Regions from separate parts of the Homo sapiens genome. Here region 2 is linked to region 1. Evidence: promoter capture Hi-C in human tissues and cell types (Jung and others, 2019). All regions are on one chromosome and are shown on one strand. Each heading gives the region's core, a stretch centred on a gene start or on the middle of the fragment in contact. The rest is flanking DNA. Distances are from core to core; before and after follow the strand shown.

Evidence for each region. Contacts are between HindIII fragments. The study calls those that stand out against the background at their distance.
Region 2: a fragment that was not itself captured here is called in contact with the fragment with the promoter of ZNF441 in region 1 in 1 of the 25 tissues and cell types used here (aorta).

What each region holds. Positions count from the first base shown.
Region 1 is chr19:11,764,176-11,769,854 of GRCh38, forward strand. ZNF441 (zinc finger protein 441) reads left to right here and starts at 2,825. Exons shown (of 4, transcript NM_152355.3): 1 at 2,825-3,021. The coding sequence starts at 3,019. RefSeq lists an enhancer at 2,986-3,085 and silencers at 3,156-3,295, 3,746-3,855. The HindIII fragment of the contact is 15,674 bases long and covers 1-5,679 here.
Region 2 is chr19:11,904,669-11,909,849 of GRCh38, forward strand. It overlaps ZNF69 (zinc finger protein 69), which reads left to right. Exons shown (of 4, transcript NM_001364730.1): 4 at 1-2,028. The coding sequence ends at 1,430. Among named protein-coding and RNA genes, the nearest start is that of ZNF700, 18 kb to the right of the region's middle. The HindIII fragment of the contact is 5,350 bases long and covers 946-5,181 here.

The DNA.
Region 1 (5,679 bases), core at 1,575-4,074:
GGCCATTCTAACTGGTGTGAAATGGTATCTCATTGTGGTTTTGATGTGCATTTCTCTAATGATTAGTGATATTGGGCATTTTTTTTTTCATTTGCTTGTTGATTACATGCATGTCTTCTTTTGAAAAGTGTCTTTAATCCATCTTGAGTTGATTTTTGTATATGGTTTAAGAAAGGGGTTCAGTTTCAATCTTTTGCATATGGCTAGCCAGTTATCCCAGCACCATTGATGAGTCCTTCCCCACTGCTTGTTTTTGTCAGCTTTGTGAAAGATCAGATGGTTGAAGGTGAGCAGCATTATTTCTAGGCTCTCTATTCTGTTCCATTGGTAATGTGTCAGTTTTTGTAAAAATACCTTACTGTAGCCCTGTAGTATATAGTTTGAAGTCTGGTAGCATGATGCCTCCAGCTTTGTTCTTTTTGCTTAGGATTGCCTTGACTATTTGGGACTTTTTAAGTTATTTTTTTCCAAGAACTAAGTCTTGCATTTGCTAATCTTTTGTATGTTTTTTTTTTTTTTTGTATCTCAATTTCCTTCAGTTTAGCTCTGATTTTGGTCATTTTAGCTCTGATTTTGGTCATTTCTTGTCTTCTGCTAGCTTTGGGATTGGTTTGCTCTTGCTTCTCTAGTTCTTCTAGTTGTGATATTGGGTTATTAATTTCAGATCTTTCTTTTTGATTTGGGCAGTTAGTGCTATAAATTTCCATCTTAACACTTCTTTAGCTGTGCCCCAGAGATTCTGGTATGTTGTATCTTTCTTCTCAGTTTCCAAGAATTTCTTGATTTTGGTGTTAATTTCATTATTTACTCAGAAGTCATTCTGAACCAGGTCATTTAATTTTGATATAATTGTATGGTTTGGGGAGATTTTCTTAGTCTTGATTTCTATTTTTATTGCACTGTGGTCTGAGAGTGCAGTTGGTATGATTTTGTTTGCTTGTTTTTTTAATTTGCTGAGGGTTATTTTATGTCTGATTATGTTACTGATTTTAGAGTATGTGCCATGTGGTGAGGAGAAGAATGTATAATCTGTTGGTTTTGGGTGGAAAGTTCTGTAGATGTCATATCCATTTGGTCAGGTGTTGGTGGAAGGCTAAGGAGGAGCAAAGGCAAATGTTACATGGCGGCAGGCAAGAGAGCATGTACAGGGAAACTGCCCTTTATAAAGCCATCAGATTTCATGAGACTTATTCACTATCACGAGAACAGCATGGGAAAACCGCCTCCATGATTCAATTACCTCCCACTGGATCACTCCCATGACATGTGGGGATTATGGGAGCTGCAATTCAAAATGAGATTTGGGTGAGTAAGTCTCATGAGATCCGATGGCTTTATAAAGGGCAGTTCCCCTGCACACGCTCTCTTGCCTGCCGCCATGTAACATTTGCTTTTGCTCCTCCTTTGCCTTCCACCATGATTGTGAGGCCTCCCCAGCCATGCTGAACTGTGAGTCAATTAAACCTCTTTTTCTTCGTATCACCATGGGTGCCAGCTCCCAGTTAATAACGCTTTTTTTTTGTTTGTTTTTAAATAGAGATGGGGGTTTCACCACATTGCCCAGGCCGGTCTTGAGCTCCTGAGCTCAAGCAATCCACCCACCTCAGCCTCCCAAAGTGGTGGGATTGCAGGCATGAGCCACGGTGCCTGGCCTCATAATGCTTTTATATCTGGTATTCTTCATAAAAATATGAAGATGAATGTTTTCAAATTCAAAGTCTAATGTCTCAGCCTTTGATTGAAGCATTTAATTCAATAACATTTATAGGCTTGATGGAAGGAGCATTTCCACGCTGTGTTTAGGAGACAGGAGGGCAAATTGAACTCCCAGAGTTAAATCCATTAGTGCCCCTGACTCATCCCCAGGTTCTGATCCACCCTAGGGCTCCATTTCAGGAATTATCGTCTGGCCTCCAAGCTTTGGAATATGTTTGGCCTCCTGAAAGTGGTTGACTTGTGAACTGTGTGTGGATGCAGCAGGCTGCTTATCTGAGCTAGTTCAAGTTTTTGCTTTATAAAATATTGCCGCCATATAATTCCAGTTTTTCCACACATTTAACAATTTTATTTATTTCTTTTTTCTTTTTTCTTTTTTTTTTTTTTTGAGACGGAGTCTCCCTCTGTCTCGCCCACTCTCTCACTGCAGCCTCTGCCTTCCAGGTTCAAGTGATTCCTCTGTCTCAGCCTCCTGAGTAGCTGGGACTACAGGCGTGCGCCACCACATCCGGCTAATCTTTGTATTTTAGAGACGGGATTTCACCATGTTGGCCAGACTGGTCTCGAATTTCTGACCTCAGGTGATCCACCTGCCTCAGCCTCCCAAAGTGCTGGGATTACAGGTGTGAGCCACCACGCCCGGCTTTGTTGGGGTGTTTTTATATTCTGCACTGAAAATTAGTAGATTGAGACATAAGGTGGGAGAAAGGCTTGGCCTGTGCAGCCAACAGCCTCATCCAAAACTCCTGATTCCTGGAGGACATCAGCCCCTCCCTTCTGCTGCAGTGTGGCCTGGGCTCCCTTCCTGCTCTCAAATCAGGGGATAGCTCCACTGGACAGTGAGTCTGGAATTTCCTGCACAGACTTGTGGGTCCCTGTCCAAGAGGAAAAAGGAGGAAGGTCAGGACATACTGCCTAAATGCAAATGTCCCCTGGGAGGGGGTCAGGTCACAGCGCAGGGAGGAAGCTAGTCCTCTCAAGGCCTGTCTGGAATCTGTTTATCAGGTTCCACTCCGCTGCCCGAGATCGCTTCTTCCGTTACTCAGTGCCCGGGGGAGGGACCTGGCGCACTATCCAATCAGGGCCGCGGGGCGGGGTCGTGAGAACTGTCAATCAGGCGCACTGACCGGAGGAGGGTGCAAGGTTCAAAGAGCCCGCCGAGTCTTCTCCACGCCCCTGCACTGGGCTCCGGGTTCTGTCACTGAGAGACGCCCTGGAACGTCTGTGGCAGCTTCTGTCTCGCTGGGACCCGCACTGACAGCGGGAGGCAGAGGGAGGAACCTGGACGCCGGAAGCCGGGAAATGGTGAGTGTGTGAGGTCTGGTGTCCCGACGCGTGAGAGGAGAGACTGGTTGGAACCGGCCGGAACCGGCTGTGGTGGCACCAGGTCTTCCCCGCCGGCGACACCCTGGCGCAGCTCGGCCCTCGGTTCCCTCGGCCGCACGATGGGGCTGGGGCGGCAGCCGGGACCCCGGGCGTCCTGTCCCGTCCCTGCGCGGCCACTGCGGCCCTGGCCCTGGAGGCCTGTCTGGGCAGCTCCGCGCCCGCAGTCCTGCGTCTCCCCAGATTGTGCGGCTGTAACCGGCACAGGTTCGCGGCCCGAGTCACTGCACCGAGACGCCGAGGGCTGCAGCAGAAACAGTTTAATAGGGGGAGAGGGGAGGACACCCCAGATCCGCCTTCCTGAGAGGTTTGGGGATGGGGTGTTTAGGGGTGTGGACAGGGGCGGCTGGGGCGTGGGGTCGCTGGATGGTGGGGAAGTGAGGGGTGACTCTTGGGACTGGAGGTGAAGAAACCGCATTCTTCTGCTGAGTGGGTTCCCTTGTGGGGTCTTCAGCCTGGTTGGCGCCAGCCTTTCCGCTGGAATTCAGGATCTGAGAAAGAACTCAGGCGACTCTTGAGCAACTCTCAGAGATCTCATCCCCAAGCACAATGGCGAAGCCGGCGGTCAGCATCTGCTGTGGCCTGACTCTTGGGGAGGCGGCCCCGCGAGGCAGCGGGGCTGAGGGCACCTGGTTAATATCTAACTGCAATCTCGCCTCCAGCCTGGCTCGCAGTTCTGTGAACCCGGTGAGGAGGCTGCACGGTGATGACAGGTCACCAGGCAGACTCGTGTGTGGGGTTTGTGTGTGGGAGGAGTTGTGGTCTGTGTGGTCCCCTGTCCCTTCTTTCTTCCCAAGGGTGACCCGTTCGCCTTCGAGTCTTCCAAAGATGTGGGCAGCAGGGTCTCAAGTCCACCACTGTGTTCTCTCATCCTAACTCCTCCTAGGGCCGACAGAAAATCCCTTGGCTTCCAGAGCCTTCCTCAGGCTTTCTCTCCTCAATTCACAGCAACTTTATGAACTCCTTGTCCCCCAGTTTATTTTTCAAACAGAGGCTAGTATTTTAATTGTCATTTTGTTTATACATAGCAATATATGGCTCTTTGTAAAAGGTTTTGTGTTTGTGAACATTTCACATGAGAGGAAGCAGAGAAAAACCACCAGACATTTCGCTGTAAAAAAAATGAATATTAATAAATAAAATCTTTGTTACTGTCCTCCCTTCATCATCCCTAGACAGAGACACCTTTTGAGAATGTCTTTGGATTAAGTTTCCTCTTTGGAAACGTTACAGAGTGATGAGTCCCCAGCCCATCCTCTATGGTTTCCTGGTCCTGGGTTTCAGAGCTGCCTGGGGCCACCCCAAGATGCCCACAGCTGCCAAGTCTCTTGTAGTGTCAAGTGAATATCAGTCCCTTTGTCACTCCTCCCAGAGGACACCCTGAGGTGGAGATGGTGGGACCTTGTAGGGAAGCAGCATGATGCCCTGTAGTGGGAGGAGTCTCCTGGTATACCCTTCCTCAATAAGCTACTTCCTTAGAACACTCAGCTTTTCTTCCCCCATCCCTTCCTTGGGGATATATGGCTGGTCAGCCAATTGGATGGTGGTATTAAGGGGACAGGACTGAAATGATTCTTCCCTTCTGATGTTCTCAGACTAATGAAGGGAGAAAACTATCCCTAAGGACAGGAAAACCAACTCCACTGAGGTGGTGCAAGAACCTGAAAAGCTAACAATGTAGTGTCTCCTGGGATCATGGTTATTGAGCACTTCGGTGAGCAGCATGGTGATGGGGGATGTTCCAGGTGATAGGAGGACCTGACTTGACACACTCTGCACCCATAGGGAGGTGGTGAAAGGAGATGATGGTATAAGGGATGCATATGGATCAACCAAATTGAAGAACTGGGAGAAGATAGAGAACTAGAAACTGTGTCAAGGGTCATAAAACCCCTTTTTTGGTATGGAAAAACGAAACCACACTCAAAATGGAAGCTGAGGTAACAAACTGAGTAAAAATTAATGAAAACTGGAAAGTCTATAGTTAGTTGATCATTGTATATGGAGATGCTGGGCAGAAGATGGATTATTCTCCTGTAGGTAACCATTTGTCTCCATCATTTCTGTTGAAGTGTCCCTCATTTGTATCACTGCCTGGCAATACCTGCTGTGTCATAGGTTCTTGTACCTTAAGTAGATGCTCTTGTTCCAGAATTTGCCATTTTTCATTGGTTTATGTATCCATCAGTCTGCTAATATCATACTCTCCTGATTACTATAGTCTTCAAAGCCTTGATGTGTGGTAGAGAAAGACCCTTCCTAACTTAGTCCTTTGGGTTGCTATAACAAATTTACCATAGACTGCATGCCTTACACAACAGATATTCATTTCTCAAAGCTATAAAGGCTGAGAATTCAGTTTCAAGCAGCAGGTCAGTTGTCTACTAAAGGACTCTTTTTTTTTTTATTTTTTATTTTTGAGATGGAGTCTTGCTCTGTTGCCCAGGCTGGAGAACAGTGGCATGATCTCAGCTCACTGCAACCTCCGCCTCCTGGGTTCAAGTGATTCTCCTGCCTCAGCTTCCCAAGTAGCTGGGACTACAGGCACATGCCACCACCCCAGCTAATTTTTTGTATTTT
Region 2 (5,181 bases), core at 2,371-4,870, 140 kb after region 1:
TCAATGAAATTAAAGATGACAGTCATTGTGGAGAAACTTTTACCCAGGTTCCAGATGACAGGCTGAACTTCCAGGAGAAGAAAGCTTCTCCTGAAATAAAATCATGTGACAGCTTTGTGTGTGGAGAAGTTGGCCTAGGTAACTCATCTTTTAATATGAACATCAGAGGTGACATTGGACACAAGGCCTATGAGTATCAGGAATATGGACCGAAGCCATGTAAGTGTCAACAACCTAAAAAAGCCTTCAGATATCACCCCTCCTTTAGAACACCACAAAGGGATCACACTGGAGAGAAACCCTATGCTTGTAAAGAATGTGGAAAAACTTTTATTTCCCATTCAAGCATTCAAAGACACGTGGTAATGCACAGTGGGGATGGACCTTATAAATGTAAATTTTGTGGGAAAGCCTTCCATTGTCTCAGTTTATATCTTATCCATGAAAGAATTCACACTGGAGAGAAACCATATGAATGTAAACAATGTGGTAAATCCTTTAGTTATTCTGCTACCCTTCGAATACACGAAAGAACTCACACTGGAGAAAAGCCTTATGAATGTCAGCAATGTGGGAAAGCATTTCATAGTCCCAGATGCTATCGTAGACATGAAAGGATTCACACGGGAGAGAAGGCTTATCAATGTAAGGAATGTGGAAAAGCATTCACGTGTCCCCAGTATGTTCGTATACATGAAAGGACCCACTCTAGGAAAAAACCCTATGAATGTACGCAGTGTGGGAAAGCATTATCCTCTCTTACAAGTTTTCAAACACACATAAGAATGCACTCTGGAGAAAGACCTTATGAATGTAAGATATGTGGGAAAGGCTTTTGTTCTGCCAATTCATTTCAAAGACATGAAAAAACTCACAGTGGAGAGAAACCCTATAAATGCAAGCAATGTGGTAAAGCCTTCATTCATTCCAGTTCCCTTCGTTATCATGAAAGGATTCACACTGGAGAGAAACCCTATGAGTGTAAGCAATGTGGGAAGGCCTTCAGATCTTCCTCACACCTTCAATTGCATGGTAGGACTCACACTGGAGAGAAGCCCTATGAATGTCAGGAATGTGGGAAAGCCTTCAGATCTATGAAGAACCTTCAAAGTCATGAAAGGACACAAACACACGTAAGAATACACTCTGGAGAAAGACCTTATAAATGTAAGCTATGTGGGAAAGGCTTTTATTGTCCCAAATCATTGCAAAGACATGAAAAAACTCACACTGGAGAGAAACTCTATGAATGCAAGCAATGTGGTGAAGCCTTCAGTAGTTCCAGTTCCTTTCGATACCATGAAAGGACTCACACTGGAGAGAAACCCTATAAATGCAAGCAATGTGGGAAAGCCTTCAGAGCTGCCTCAGTCCTTCGAATGCATGGTAGGACTCACCCTGAAGATAAACCCTATGAGTGTAAGCAATGAGGGAAAGCCTTCAGATCTGCCTCACACCTTTGAATGCATGGTAGGACACACAATCAAGAGAAACCATGAATGTAAAGAATGTGGGAAACCCTTCAGGTCTGCCCAGAACCTTCGAATTCAGTAAAGGACACAAGCACACATAAGAATGCATTCTGGATAGCTGAACAAAAGGCAGCAGAAACTTCTGCAGACTTAAATGTCCCTGTCTGACAGCTTTGAAGAGAGTAGCAGTCCTCCCAGCATGGAGTTTGAGATCTAAGAATGGACAGTCTGCCTCCTCAAGTGGGTCCCTGATCTCCAAGTAGCCTAACTGGGAGGCACTTCCCAGTAGGGGCCAACTGACACCTCATACGGCCGTGTGCCCCTCTGTGACGAAGCTTCCAGAGGAAGGATCAGGCAACAACATTTGCCGTTCTGCAATATTTGCTGTTCTGCAGCCCCTGCTGGTGATACCCAGGCAAACAGGGTCTGGAGTGGACCTCAAGCAAAATCCAACAGACCTCAGCTGAGGGTCCTGACTGTTAGAAGGAAAACTAACAAACAGAAAGGACAACCACACCAAAACCCATCTGTACATCACCATCATCAAAGACCAAAAGTAGATAAAACCACAAAGATGGGGAGAAACCAGAGCAGAAAAGCTGAAAATTCTAAACATCAGAGCGCCTCTTCTCCTCCAAAGGAACGCAGCTCCTCGCCAGCAATGGAACAAAGCTGGACTTTGACTTTGACGAGCTGAGAGAAGAAGGCTTCAGATGATCGGTAATAACAAACTTCTCCAAGCTAAAGGAGGATGTTCGAACCCATCACAAAGAAGCTAAAAACCTTGAAAAAAGATTAGACAAAATGGCTAACTAGAATAAACAGTGTAGAGAAGACCTTAAATGACCCGATGGAGCTGAAAACCATGGCACGAGAACTATGTGATGCATGCACAAGCTTCAGTAGCTGATTCAATCAAGTGGAAGAAAAGGTATCAGTAATTGAAGATCAAATGGATGAAATGAAGTGAGAAGAGAAGTTTAGAGAAAAAAGAGTAAAAAGAAATGAAAAAGCCTCCAAGAAATATGGGACTATGTGAAAAGACCAAATCTATGTCTGATTGGTGTACCTGAAAGTGACAGGGATGGAACCAAGTTGGGAAACACTCTTCAGGATATTATTCAGGAGAACTTCCCCAACCTAGCAAGGCAGACCAACATTCAAATTCAGGAAATACAGAGAACGCCACAAAGATACTCCTCGAGAGGAGCAACTCCAAGACACATAATTGTCAGATTCACCAAAGTTGAAATGAAGGAAAAAATGTTAAGGGCAGCCAGAGAGAAAGGTCGGGTTACCCACAAAGGGAAGCCCGTCAGACTAACAGCGGATCTCTTGGCAGAAACTCTACAAGCCAGAAAAGAGTGGGGGCCAATATTCAACATTCTTAAAGGAAAGAATTTTCAACCCAGAATTTCATATCCAGCCATACTAAGCTTCATAAGTGAAGGAGAAATAAAATCCTTTACAGATTCAAATGCTGAGAGATTTTGTCACCACCAGGCCTGCTGTAAAAGATCTCCTGAAGGAAGCACTAAACATGGAAAGGAACAACCGGTACCAGCCACTGCAAAAACATGCCAAATTGTAAAGACCATTGAGGCTAGGAAGAAACTGTATCAACTAACGAGCAAAATAACCAGTTAACATCATAATGACTGGATCAAATTCACACATAACAATATTAACCTTCAATGTAAATGGGCTAAATGCTCCAATTAAAAGACACAGACTGGCAAATTGGATAAAGAATCAAGACCCATCAGTGTGCTGTATTCAGGAGACCCATCTCACGTGCAGAGACATACATAGGCTCAAAATAAAGGGATGGAGGAAGATCTACCAAGCAAATGGAAAACAAACAAAAAAAGCAGGGGTTGCAATCCTAGTCTCTGATAAAACAGACTTTAAACCAACAAAGATCAAAAGAGACAAGGCCATTACATAAAGGTAAAGGGATCAATTCAACAAGAAGAGCTAACTATCCTAAATATTTATGCACCCAATACAGGAGCACTGAGATGCATAAAGCAAGTCCTTAGAGACCTACAAAGAGACTTAGACTCCCACACAATAATAATGGGAGACTTTAACATCCCACTGTCAACATTAGACAGATCAATGAGACAGAAAGTTAACAAGGATATACAGGAATTGAACTCAGCTCTGCACCAAGAGGACCTAATAGACATCTACAGAACTCTCCACCCCAAATCAACAGAATATACATTCTTCTCAGCACCACATCACACTTATTCCAAAATTGACCACATAGTTGGAAGTAAAGCACTCCTCAGCAAATGTAGAAGAATAGAAATTATAACAAACTGTCTCTCGGACCACAGAGCAATCAAACTAGAACTCAGGATTAAGAAACTCACTCTAAACCACTCAAATACATGGAAACTGAACAACCTGCTCCTGAATGACTACTGGGTACATAACAAATGAAGGCAGAAATAAAGATGTTCTTTGAAACCAATGAGAACAAAGACACAACATACCAGAATCTCTGGGACACATTTAAAGCAGTTTGTAGAGGGAAATTTATAGCACTAAATGCCCACAGGAGAAAGCAGGAAAGATGTAAAATTGACACCCTAACATCACAATTAAAAGAACTAGAGAGGCAAGAGCAAACACATTCAAAAGCTAGCAGAAGGCAAGAAATAACTAAGATCAGAGCAGAACTGAAGGAGACAGAGACAGAAAAAACCCTTCAAAAAATCAGTGAATCCAGGAGCTGTTTTTTTGAAAAGATCAACAAAATTGATAGACCGCCAGCAAGACTAATAAAGAAGAAAAGAGAGAAGAATCAAATAGATGCAATAAAAAATGATAAAGGGGATATCACCACCGATCCCACAGAAATACAAACTACCATCAGAGAGTACTATAAATACCTCTATGGAAATAAACTAGAAAATCTAGAAGAAATGGATAAATTCCTGGACACATACACCCTCCCAAGACTAAACCAGGAAGAAGTCGAATCCCTGAATAGACCAATAACAGGCTCTGAAATTGAGGCAATAATTAATAGACTACCAACCAAAAAAAGTCAAGGACCAGATGGATTCACAGCTGAATTCTACCAGAGGTACAAAGAGGAGCTAGTACCATTCCTTCTTAAACTATTCCAATCAATAGAAAAAGAGGGAATCCTCCCTAACTCATTTTATGAGGCCAGCAACATCCTGATACCAAAGCCTGGCAGAGACACAACAAAAAGAATTTTAGACCAATATACCTGATGAACATCGATGCAAAAATCCTCAATAAAATACTGGCAAACCAAATCCAGCAGCACATCAAAAAGCTTATCCACCACGATCAAGTTGGCTTCATCCCTGGGATGCAAGGCTGATTCAACATATGCAAAGCAATAAACGTAATCCATCATATAAACAGAACCAAAGACAAAAACCACAAGATTATCTGAATAGATGCAGAAAAGGCCTTCGACAAAATTCCACAGCCCTTTATGCTAAAAACTCTCAATAAACTGGGTATTGATGGGATGTATCTCAAAATAATAAGAGCTATTTATGACAAACCTACAGTCAATATCATATACTGAATGGGCAAAAACTGGAAGCATTCCCTTTGAAAACTGGCACAAGACAGGGATGCCCTCTCTCACCACTCCTATTCAACATAGTGTTGGAAGTTCTGGCCAGGGCAATCAGGAAGGACAAAGAACTAAAGG